Regions from separate parts of the Homo sapiens genome. Here region 1 is linked to region 2. Evidence: promoter capture Hi-C in 16 types of primary human blood cells and fetal thymus (Javierre and others, 2016). All regions are on one chromosome and are shown on one strand. Each heading gives the region's core, a stretch centred on a gene start or on the middle of the fragment in contact. The rest is flanking DNA. Distances are from core to core; before and after follow the strand shown. Region 1 overlaps ASIC1 (acid sensing ion channel subunit 1). Region 2 holds the start of CERS5 (ceramide synthase 5).

The links. The method cuts DNA at HindIII sites, captures the fragments that hold promoters and counts their contacts. A CHiCAGO score of 5 or more calls a contact.
Region 1: a contact is called between a fragment that was not itself captured here and the fragment with the promoter of CERS5 in region 2, in 1 of 17 cell types (total B cells). The highest score is 5.7, in total B cells.

Annotation. Positions count from the first base shown.
Region 1 is chr12:50,061,336-50,065,452 of GRCh38, reverse strand. The region is part of intron 3 of ASIC1 (acid sensing ion channel subunit 1); the gene reads right to left. Among named protein-coding and RNA genes, the nearest start is that of ASIC1, 5.8 kb to the right of the region's middle. The HindIII fragment of the contact is 4,941 bases long and covers 264-4,117 here.
Region 2 is chr12:50,165,015-50,169,581 of GRCh38, reverse strand. It overlaps CERS5 (ceramide synthase 5), which reads left to right and starts at 2,213. Exons shown (of 10, transcript NM_147190.5): 1 at 2,213-2,481. The coding sequence starts at 2,285. LOC124902931 (a long non-coding RNA gene) reads right to left here. Exons shown (of 2, transcript XR_007063304.1): 2 at 3,959-4,556. RefSeq lists enhancers at 864-1,625, 1,677-1,836, 2,727-2,866 and silencers at 1,937-2,336, 2,437-2,586. The HindIII fragment of the contact is 9,101 bases long and covers 1-2,315 here.

The sequences.
Region 1 (4,117 bases), core at 1,485-3,984, 100 kb after region 2:
GAATAATTTTACAACCTCCTTACAGGAGATTGGGCTTAGAAGCTAAGAAGTGGGGCCAGGTGGAACTTTGCCCAAAATAGAGACCAGGAGCCCTAATGCCCAGTCCTATCCTCCACCCAGCTAGGCACCCCTTCTCATTCTCGCTGTCTCCTTCCAGCTTTGCCTCCCAGAATGCACACCTAAGGGTCCTGACTGGGACGTTATAGGTCAGAAGGTAGAGGCTTCTGCATTGGCCACCCCAAACATACAAGTGAGGGAAAGCTTGGGGGTGGGGGTGGGCAGGGGTTGGCCAAGGCGGAAGAATGGCCGGAGAGAATTGGCCGGTTGATTTAGTTAGCTGGGGAGACACCAACATATTCTATGAACCTGGCATTTTCCGAGAGGCTGAGTTTGGCTGGGGAGATTGGGAGGACTCCCCCTGGATGTTGAGAGTCTGCTCATCCCCAGCATGTTCCCCCTTGTTCTGAAGCCCACCCCACTGGGCCCCCTTTAGTACCACCCCCATGGCTCTCAGCCCTGAACCTTCCGTGCTGCACTTAACTGCCCCAGCGCAGGACCTGGCACATGGAAGTGGCACTGTCTGCTATGGGAATGAATCCAGTGGAGCTTAACGCTCCCCTAATCCCAGCTTCTCATTCTGAATATTCTGTCTCCCTCGCTATCCCCAGAGAATTGAAATTACTTTCCACAAAACTGAAACACACTCAGAAGCAACCTCCATCCACAGCAGAACATTCCAAGCCTCTCTGTGGGCCTGCCCTTCTGCCTCCAGGACACACTGGGCATGCAGTGGCCATATCCAGGAGTTCTCCACCAGCTGGGCAGTGACAAAGTCCCAAGACTTAGAGGTGCTCCTCCCCAGCCCTCCACTTCCAGGCTTGGCCCCCAGAGGCACTTAGTTACTGAATTCCCTATTGCTTTAGCCAACAGCCCCCAGGTCAATTAGCTTAGAGTAGTTCTTAGCTGATAGCTGTCTGAGAGAGGGATGGAGTCAGAAATGGCTGGGGTCTGGGGAGAAGGGGAAGAGGTGAGAGAGGAAATTGGGCTACCTGAAGGATGTTTGTGTGTATCTGTGTCTGAGAGAGAGGCAAAAGGAGACATCTGAGACCCCAACCCAGGGACCACCCACTGGATTCCTGCAACTGCAATGGGCTCTGCTCCCATCTCCTCTCTCCACCCACCTGTGTTCAGTTTAGGCACTTCCTAGGAGAGAGGGACAGATGAGAAGGATAAGGCAGGAGGTGGTAGCCATGAACCCCTAGGGCAGGAACCCTTCCCCCAAAGTTCATGAACCCCATGAACCCCTCCTCTAAAGTTACTGTCTCCAGGTCGGCCTCTTCTATCCCTCTGCAATCTGTGCATGTTCCCCCTTCCCACCCATGAAGACCACCAGGCCTCTGGGTGGGGCTGCCCAAGATTCCCCTTCCCCTGTCTGCATGGCAGTCTGGGCAGCCTTTCCCTTCAGCAGCCCCTCCACTCCCTGCCTAGCTGGAGGGTGCAGACCCCAGTAGTAAGGTCAGGCCCTCCCAAGGGACTTCTGGTCTGAGCTTCTATGGGGCAGCATGGGGTGTGGGGATGAGGGGTGAGCCCTAGGGATGAATAAACTCCATGCTAGTCCTGGCTCTTGCTGGGCACTGCCATCCCTGGCTCTCCTGCTTTAAGATGACTTCTCTCTCCCCACTTTGGGTCCCAGGATCAGGCGCCCACAGCCACCTCTCATTGCAGCATCTTACTTCCCTAGGTGCTCCAGGGGATGCCCGGGCCCCTTCAGAACCTAGCAGTGGATTGCAGGGGAGGCTTCTGTGCTCATCCCCATTCACTCCACCTCTTCCCTGGGAGATTCTGGTCTCCAATCCAGGGTCCTGAGAAGGACTCCTGTGGACCCCTCCCAGGGATTCCTGTCCCCCAATTTCACCCTCCTGAGAGAGATTATGAGTCACACCACATGTCCACCCCAGCATTTCCACTCTGTCCTCCTCTTCCTTCTCTTCCAGGCCCCAGAAATGAATTCCTGCTTCTCTCTCCGCTAGGCAAAGGGTCTAGGTCTCAGCGGAGGAGGGGGTGGCATAGGGCAGACTGGGTGACCATCTGCCAGCCCCCTCCCCTTGCTGCTGCTCAGCATTCTGGCCACATCAGCTGCTCCCACTGCCAGGGACAGATAAGGTGCAGCTGGAGGATGGCACCAGCTGCGACTGTGCTCACTTCTCTGGCCCCCACCCAGACACCAGCAGACAGCTGCACCCCAGCCCCCCTCCATGGAATCCCTGCCCTGCCTTGGCCTGGCTGGCCTCAAGGTGGGGCAGGAGAGAGGAGCCATGGACCCCATTGTCTTGGCAACAACACACCCTACCAGGAAGAAAAGGAGGTGGCCGGGAAGAGGGGGCCTTGTGGTTGGGTCACTGTGGTTGCTCAGGAGGCAGCTATTGAAACCTTCCCAGCCAGGTTGCTGTGGGGATACTCCCTGCCCTGCCCTTCTCCCTCTTCAGTCCCGAAGGATTTCCAAACCAGTCTCTCCCAGATTCAGCTCAGGCTCCCCATATTCACCCCCACCCTCCCAAGCTGACTCAGCCACACCTGGGGGATGGACCCTGGCCAAATGCTTTGTGACCACCAACTATTCCCTGGGGTTGAGCTAGATCCAGGAGCACATCTGGAGAAATGCCTGTTACTGCAGATCCTCATCAGGGGAGCTGGGGTCTTTGAGTGACCAGAGTAGCCTCCCTGAATTGTCTTCTTATGCCTCCCCCAACCAGCCTTGAGAAACAGGGTTCTTATTGTTGAGAAGAGGGTTGCCCTTAGAAATCTACAAAAGAGTCCACACGTGCCCCCGCACGCTATACTTTGCAAAAGCATTGAGCAAGGTCTTGGACAGTGGGGGGTGGTATCCCACAGCAATCCTGTTGGATGGGGCCCAGCAGCTTCTTCCTGAGCTACTGAAAGAGCAAGCAAAGCCCTAACCACAAAGCCTCTCTTCCCTGACTACCTTCTTTCCTCAGTGAAGAACCTCTGCTCTGAAGGCTGCAGAAGATGCCAAGATGGTCTCCCTTAGATCGACCCTATAGACAGGTGTTTCCTGTCAGTGCTACATCTGCCCAGGGCTAGAGACACACTCCCAACACACCTCTTGGCCTAGCAGAGAATGGCAAGGATGTTAATCACAAGACTGAGGAGAGAAGGGAGAGCATGGAGTATCAGGCAAGGAGTGTGGGAGCCCTTAGGACTGGGGAGCTGGAGGAGAGAGACTGCCAGGCCCTTCTCCACCGGGGAGGTGTCAGACATGGACTCCAGCCAGACGCCCATCTGTGTGGGAACATCCCTATGGGTAGAGCTCTTGACATGGAGAGGGGCTGGCAATGAAACCAACTGAAGAGAGCAGAGGGAGGAGTGAGAGGTTTGAGTCCAGCAAAATTCAGGGTCAGGTCTTTGACATGGGCTGCAAAACAGCAAAAACCTGGTCTTCCCTGACAACCCAGAAGCAAGAAGGGGCACAGCTGGGGCTGCAGGGTGCTAGCCTGTGTGTCTTTACCCCTGAGTAAGAGGAATAATTCAGACTGCTCCAGAACTTTGTGAGCCAATCACATCTCCATCTGACTACTTAGAATGGTCCCCTCAGACAGCATGGACCAATCACATCTCAGTGTCTCCATTACCATCAACCAAATGTTATCTTAGCATCACCACTTGGAATCTTTCTGGACATGATGGACAGATGGAGCCTCAACTGAATACTTTCTATGGACTAACTGTGCCCAAATTTATATCTTAGCACCTCCTCAGATTGAGCCAAGCACTTCTCTCCCTCATCCAACACTACAAACCACTCAAACAAATACGTTTTCTCCATCTTTCTCACGGGTCCCTCCTGCTTGTGTGTTGGGTGTGTTGGAGGGAGGCGGCTCTGGCTTTTGCTTCCACCTTCACCTACAGTCCTGTTACTCTTGGGAGCATCACTTGTGAGACTGCAAACCCTCTGGTCTCAAGCTCTGGGGAATCCAGGACTCTCCTGTTATGAAGCAGTAAGAGAGGGAAGGAAGTGGTTCTTGCATCTTGGCTAAGCTCCCCATCAGCTTGGCTCAGCAAAGAGTGCAGTCATGTGAACTTTGTCCAGCAGGATTGA
Region 2 (4,567 bases), core at 964-3,463:
GCCTCGGCCTCCCAAAGTGCTAGGATTACAGGCGTGAGCCACCGTGCCCAGCCTAAAGGAGTTTGAGCAATGTATGATTCTCAAATTGGGCAGCCCCTGAATCACAGCAGATTCAGAGAGACCCAGCATATCCACAGAGACCCAGCATATTCACGTGGTGGAAGATTTATGGACAGCAAAATGAAAGTGAGGTACAGAAACAACCAGATTGGTTACAGATCAGCGTTTGTCTCATTTGAACGTGGTTGGAACAGTTGGCTACATTTGATTGGCCAAAATTCAGTGATTGGCACTGGTGTGGTCTACGTTCGATTTACACCTCCACTTGTTACAGTTCACAATGTACAGAAAACCTTTAGGCCGAACTTAAATATGTAAGGAGGCAGCTTTAGATTAAACTTGACTTAACACTAGCTACCACTTCTTACCTACATAACTTTGGGCAAGTTGTTTGGCCTCACTGGACCTCAGTTTACTTATCCAGTGGGGATAACAAGATCAACTTTATAGGGTGAAGGAGTGAAATAACCTGTGTAAAATGTTCCATGCAGTGCCTGGCACACAGGAAACCTCATCAAACATTGGCTATTTATTTTGTTTTGCCTTTAGGTCCTTTAGATATACTTTTTTTTTTTTTTTTTTTGAGACGAGTCTCACTTTGTCGCCCAGGCTGGAGTGTAGTGGCGCAATCTGGGCTCACTGCAAGCTCCGCCTCCCGGGTTCACGCCATTCTCCTGCCTGAGCCTCCCAAGTAGCTGGGACTACAGGCGCCCGCCACCATGCCTGGCTAATTTTTTGTATTTTAATAGAGATGGGGTTTCACCGTGTTAGCCAGGATGGTCTCGATCTCCTGACCTCATGATCCGCCCGCCTCGGCCTCCCAAAGTGTTGGGATTACAGGCGTGAGCCGCGCCCGGCCTTTTTTTGTTTGTTTTTGTTTTGAGACGCTCTGTTGCCTAGGCTGGAGGGCAATGGCGTGGTCTCGGCTCACTGTGATCTCCGCCTCAAGCAATTCTCCTGCCTCAGCCTCCCGAGTAGCTAGGATTACAGGCATGCACCACCACACCCGGGTAATTTTTGTATTTTTAGTAGGGACGGGGTTTCACCATGGCCAGCCTGGTCTCGAACTCCTTACCTCAGGTGATTCTTCCGCCTTGGCCTTCCAACGTGCTGGGATTACAGGCGTGAGCCACCACACCCGGCCTGCCTTTACGTATACTTTTTGAGTGCTTCCCTTTTCACTTTGTTTTTCTTCCATTTCCTTTTCCCCAAGAGAAGAATAAAAGGATTTTTGTAAACTTTTTTTATTTTTATTTTGGGACGGAGTCTTTGGTCTGTCGCCCAGGCTGGAGTGCAATGGCGCGATTTCGGCTCACTGCGACCTCCGCCTCCCAGGTTCAAGCGATTCTCCTGTCCCAGCTTTCCGAGTAGCTGGGATTACAGGCACAGCGCCACCAGGCCCAGCTAATTTTTGTATTTTTAGTAGAGACGGGGTTTTGCCATGTTGGCCAGGCTGGTCTCGAACTCCTGACCTCAGGTGATCCGCCAGCCTCGGCCTCTGAAAGTGCTGGGATTACAGGCGTGAGCCACCGCGCCCGGCCTTTTGTAAACTGTTAAGTCCATTTTTTCTGAGGAAAAGTGACTAATTTTTAAGGGATAAAGCAGTGAAAGTAGGCTGAGGTCACGGGGCACGAAGGGAAGAAAAGGTTGGGAGCGAAAAGAACTCTAGTGGCGGACAGTAGTGGGCAGGACCAGCTGACATCCAAGAGAAGCCCTGACCTGAGAGATCGATCTGGCCTCCGGGAGTGGAGACAGAGGTACCGCCTGGGTGGGAGCCGGAACGGATTCGATTCCAACAGGCTGAGAAAGGAGAATGTCCCCGTAAAGGAGCTAGGCCTGAAATAAGGGGTGTGGCCGTAGCTGGATGGAAGAGTGAGGGAGGAGTAGAAGCGTGGCCTAGACCAGCAGCAAAAGAGGGCGGGCCCAGGGCCGCCCGAGGCGTGGTCCCAGGGCCGGGCTGGGCGAGTCAGAGGCTCGGGAAGGGGCGTGGATCCCCGGAGGCGGTCCCCGGGTTGCAGTGAGGGAAGTGGGCCGGGAGGAGAGATGGGCGGTGAAGAGGCCCGGCCCTGCCAGGGAGGCGGGCGGATCCGTGGCAGTGACCAGAAGGGGCCGGAAGGGGGTGGCCGCCGGCCGGGCCCCGCCCTGGGGCCGCCTCCCCGCGGGTTCCGTTGGCTGTGGCGGCAGCTGACGCTTGTGGCGGCGGTGGCTTCGGGGTGGGCGTAAGATGGCGACAGCAGCGCAGGGACCCCTAAGCTTGCTGTGGGGCTGGCTGTGGAGCGAGCGCTTCTGGCTACCCGAGAACGTGAGCTGGGCTGATCTGGAGGGGCCGGCCGACGGCTACGGTTACCCCCGCGGCCGGCACATCCTCTCGGTGTTCCCGCTGGCGGCGGGCATCTTCTTCGTGAGGCTGCTCTTCGAGCGGTGAGAGCCCGGGAGCGAGCGGCTCGGGGGCCGGGCGCGGGCCGGGGGCGCCCCGCTGTGGGAAGGGCCGAGGGCCGGAAGCAGAACTGCAAGGAAAGCCCGGAAGCAGGGGCTGGGGGAGCTTGGGCCGCGGCGGGTGATGCTAGGCGCGTGGGCGAGGTGGTAGCCTAGATGGAGAAGGAGTTTGGGGCGTGGGCAAGAGAAAGAGTGAGGGTCTAGGGGAATGCTGGGCCCCTTCAATGTTAGATCCGGAGTTGGATTGGGGGGGTCATATAGGCCTCCTCCCAACCTCCAAGGGTCCTACAGATGAGGAAACAGGTTCAGTGTGAGCTCTGGCAGAGGCCCCGAAGAGAGGGATAGGAAGGGGCCAGGAGAACCAGAGCTAGTTGTGACCATGGAAGCCGAGGGGTCAACGCAAGGGCCAGACGTTCCAAGGGAAAGGAATGGACTCATCAGACTCTTAAGATTTGTTAGGACGCTTGAGTTTCCGAGAATTGGGGGGAACAGGATTAGTTTGGCCCTAAGAGTTGGTTTGGTATGTCAACTCATGCACGTTTGTTGGTAGGAGGGTAGAAATCTGGTTGGGATAGGGTGTGGTGGAGCCCTAGGCTTCCAAAGTAATGGAAAGATGTCAGATTAGTTGCAGAACAGGCCTTGGGGCCTGAAATGGAAGGAGGAGTGTGTTCGAAGGGATGGAGGAGAGCCACAGGGCTTTATCAGAGGACAGCTATATTGAGCCAGATTCTTTTTTCTTTTCTTTTTTTTTTTTTTTTTTTTGAGACAGAGTTTCGCTCTTGTTGCCCAGGCTGGCGTGCAATGGCACGATCTCGGCTTACCGCGACCTCCGCCTCCCCTGTTGAAGCGATTCTCCTGCCTCAGCCTCCCGAGTAGCTGGAATTACAGGCACGCGCCACCACGCCCGGCTACTTTTTGTATTTTTAGTAGAGACGGGGTTTCGCCATGTTGGCCAGGCTGGTCTGTAACTCCTGACCTCAAGTGATCCGCCCGCCTCTGCCTCCCAAAGTGCTGGGATTACAGGCGTGAGCCACCGCACCCGGCCTTGAGCCAGCTTCTAAATGAGTTTAGCAGAATTGCAGTATACTTTGTTCAACCACATGATTTCACCTTTAAGTGAATGGATCATATGTTTGTCCAAGATAAAGATATTCACTGAGGCTTTGGTGTGTGATATTATAATGTGAATTTATACCTGTGGGTGATTTTGATCAAGTCTACTCAGACTCCAAGAAAGGAGACATGTTTCTGCCATAGGCCTCAGGTAATGAGGGTGGTTCTTGGACATCTGTTCGTTTTGCCTTTATCCAAGCATAAATGATTGTAATGCAGGAATGCCCTTTCTAGGATGGGAATATGTTGCAGGTGAAATAATCTGTTAATTTCTGAAAGATAGCATCTGTTTGGGATTGCTTCTTTGATTTGCCTACTGTTTTTGACTCAAGTCTTTCAAAATCTTGTGTTCTATTTAGCTAGTCACGCATCCATTTATTCGTAGTATTTGTGCATCATCATCATCAAAATGCTCTGCCAGACGTTCAAGTGCAAAAATAAAGATGCTTAAGTGAAGCAAATGAAACCCAAAGATCTAAATGGCTTTCCTTGGCCCTCAGGAACTTAGTGTAGCAAGGTTTTTTTTTTTTTCTTTTTCTTTTTCTTTTTTTTTTGAGACGGAGTCTCGCTCTGTCGCCCAGGCTGGAGTGCAGTGGCGCGATCTCAGCTCACTGCAAGCTCCGCCTCTCGGGTTCACGCCATTCTCCTGCTTCAGTCTCCCGAGTAGCTGAAACTACAGGCGCCCGCCACCATGTCCGGCTAATTTTTTGTATTTTTAGTAGAGACGGGGATTCACCGTCTTAGCCAGGAAGGTCTCGATCTCCTGACCTCGTAATACGCCTGCCTCGGCCTCCCAAAGTGCTGGGATTACAAGCGTGAACCGCCGCGCCCGGCCTTGTTTTGTCTTTTTACGTGTAATCGTTGTAGTTAGTCATCCTGGAGTGGAGGCACAAACTGCTTGTCTGTCTTTGGAATAAACTAGATCCAGGTACTCTCTTCCATAGTCTCTGTATATGAG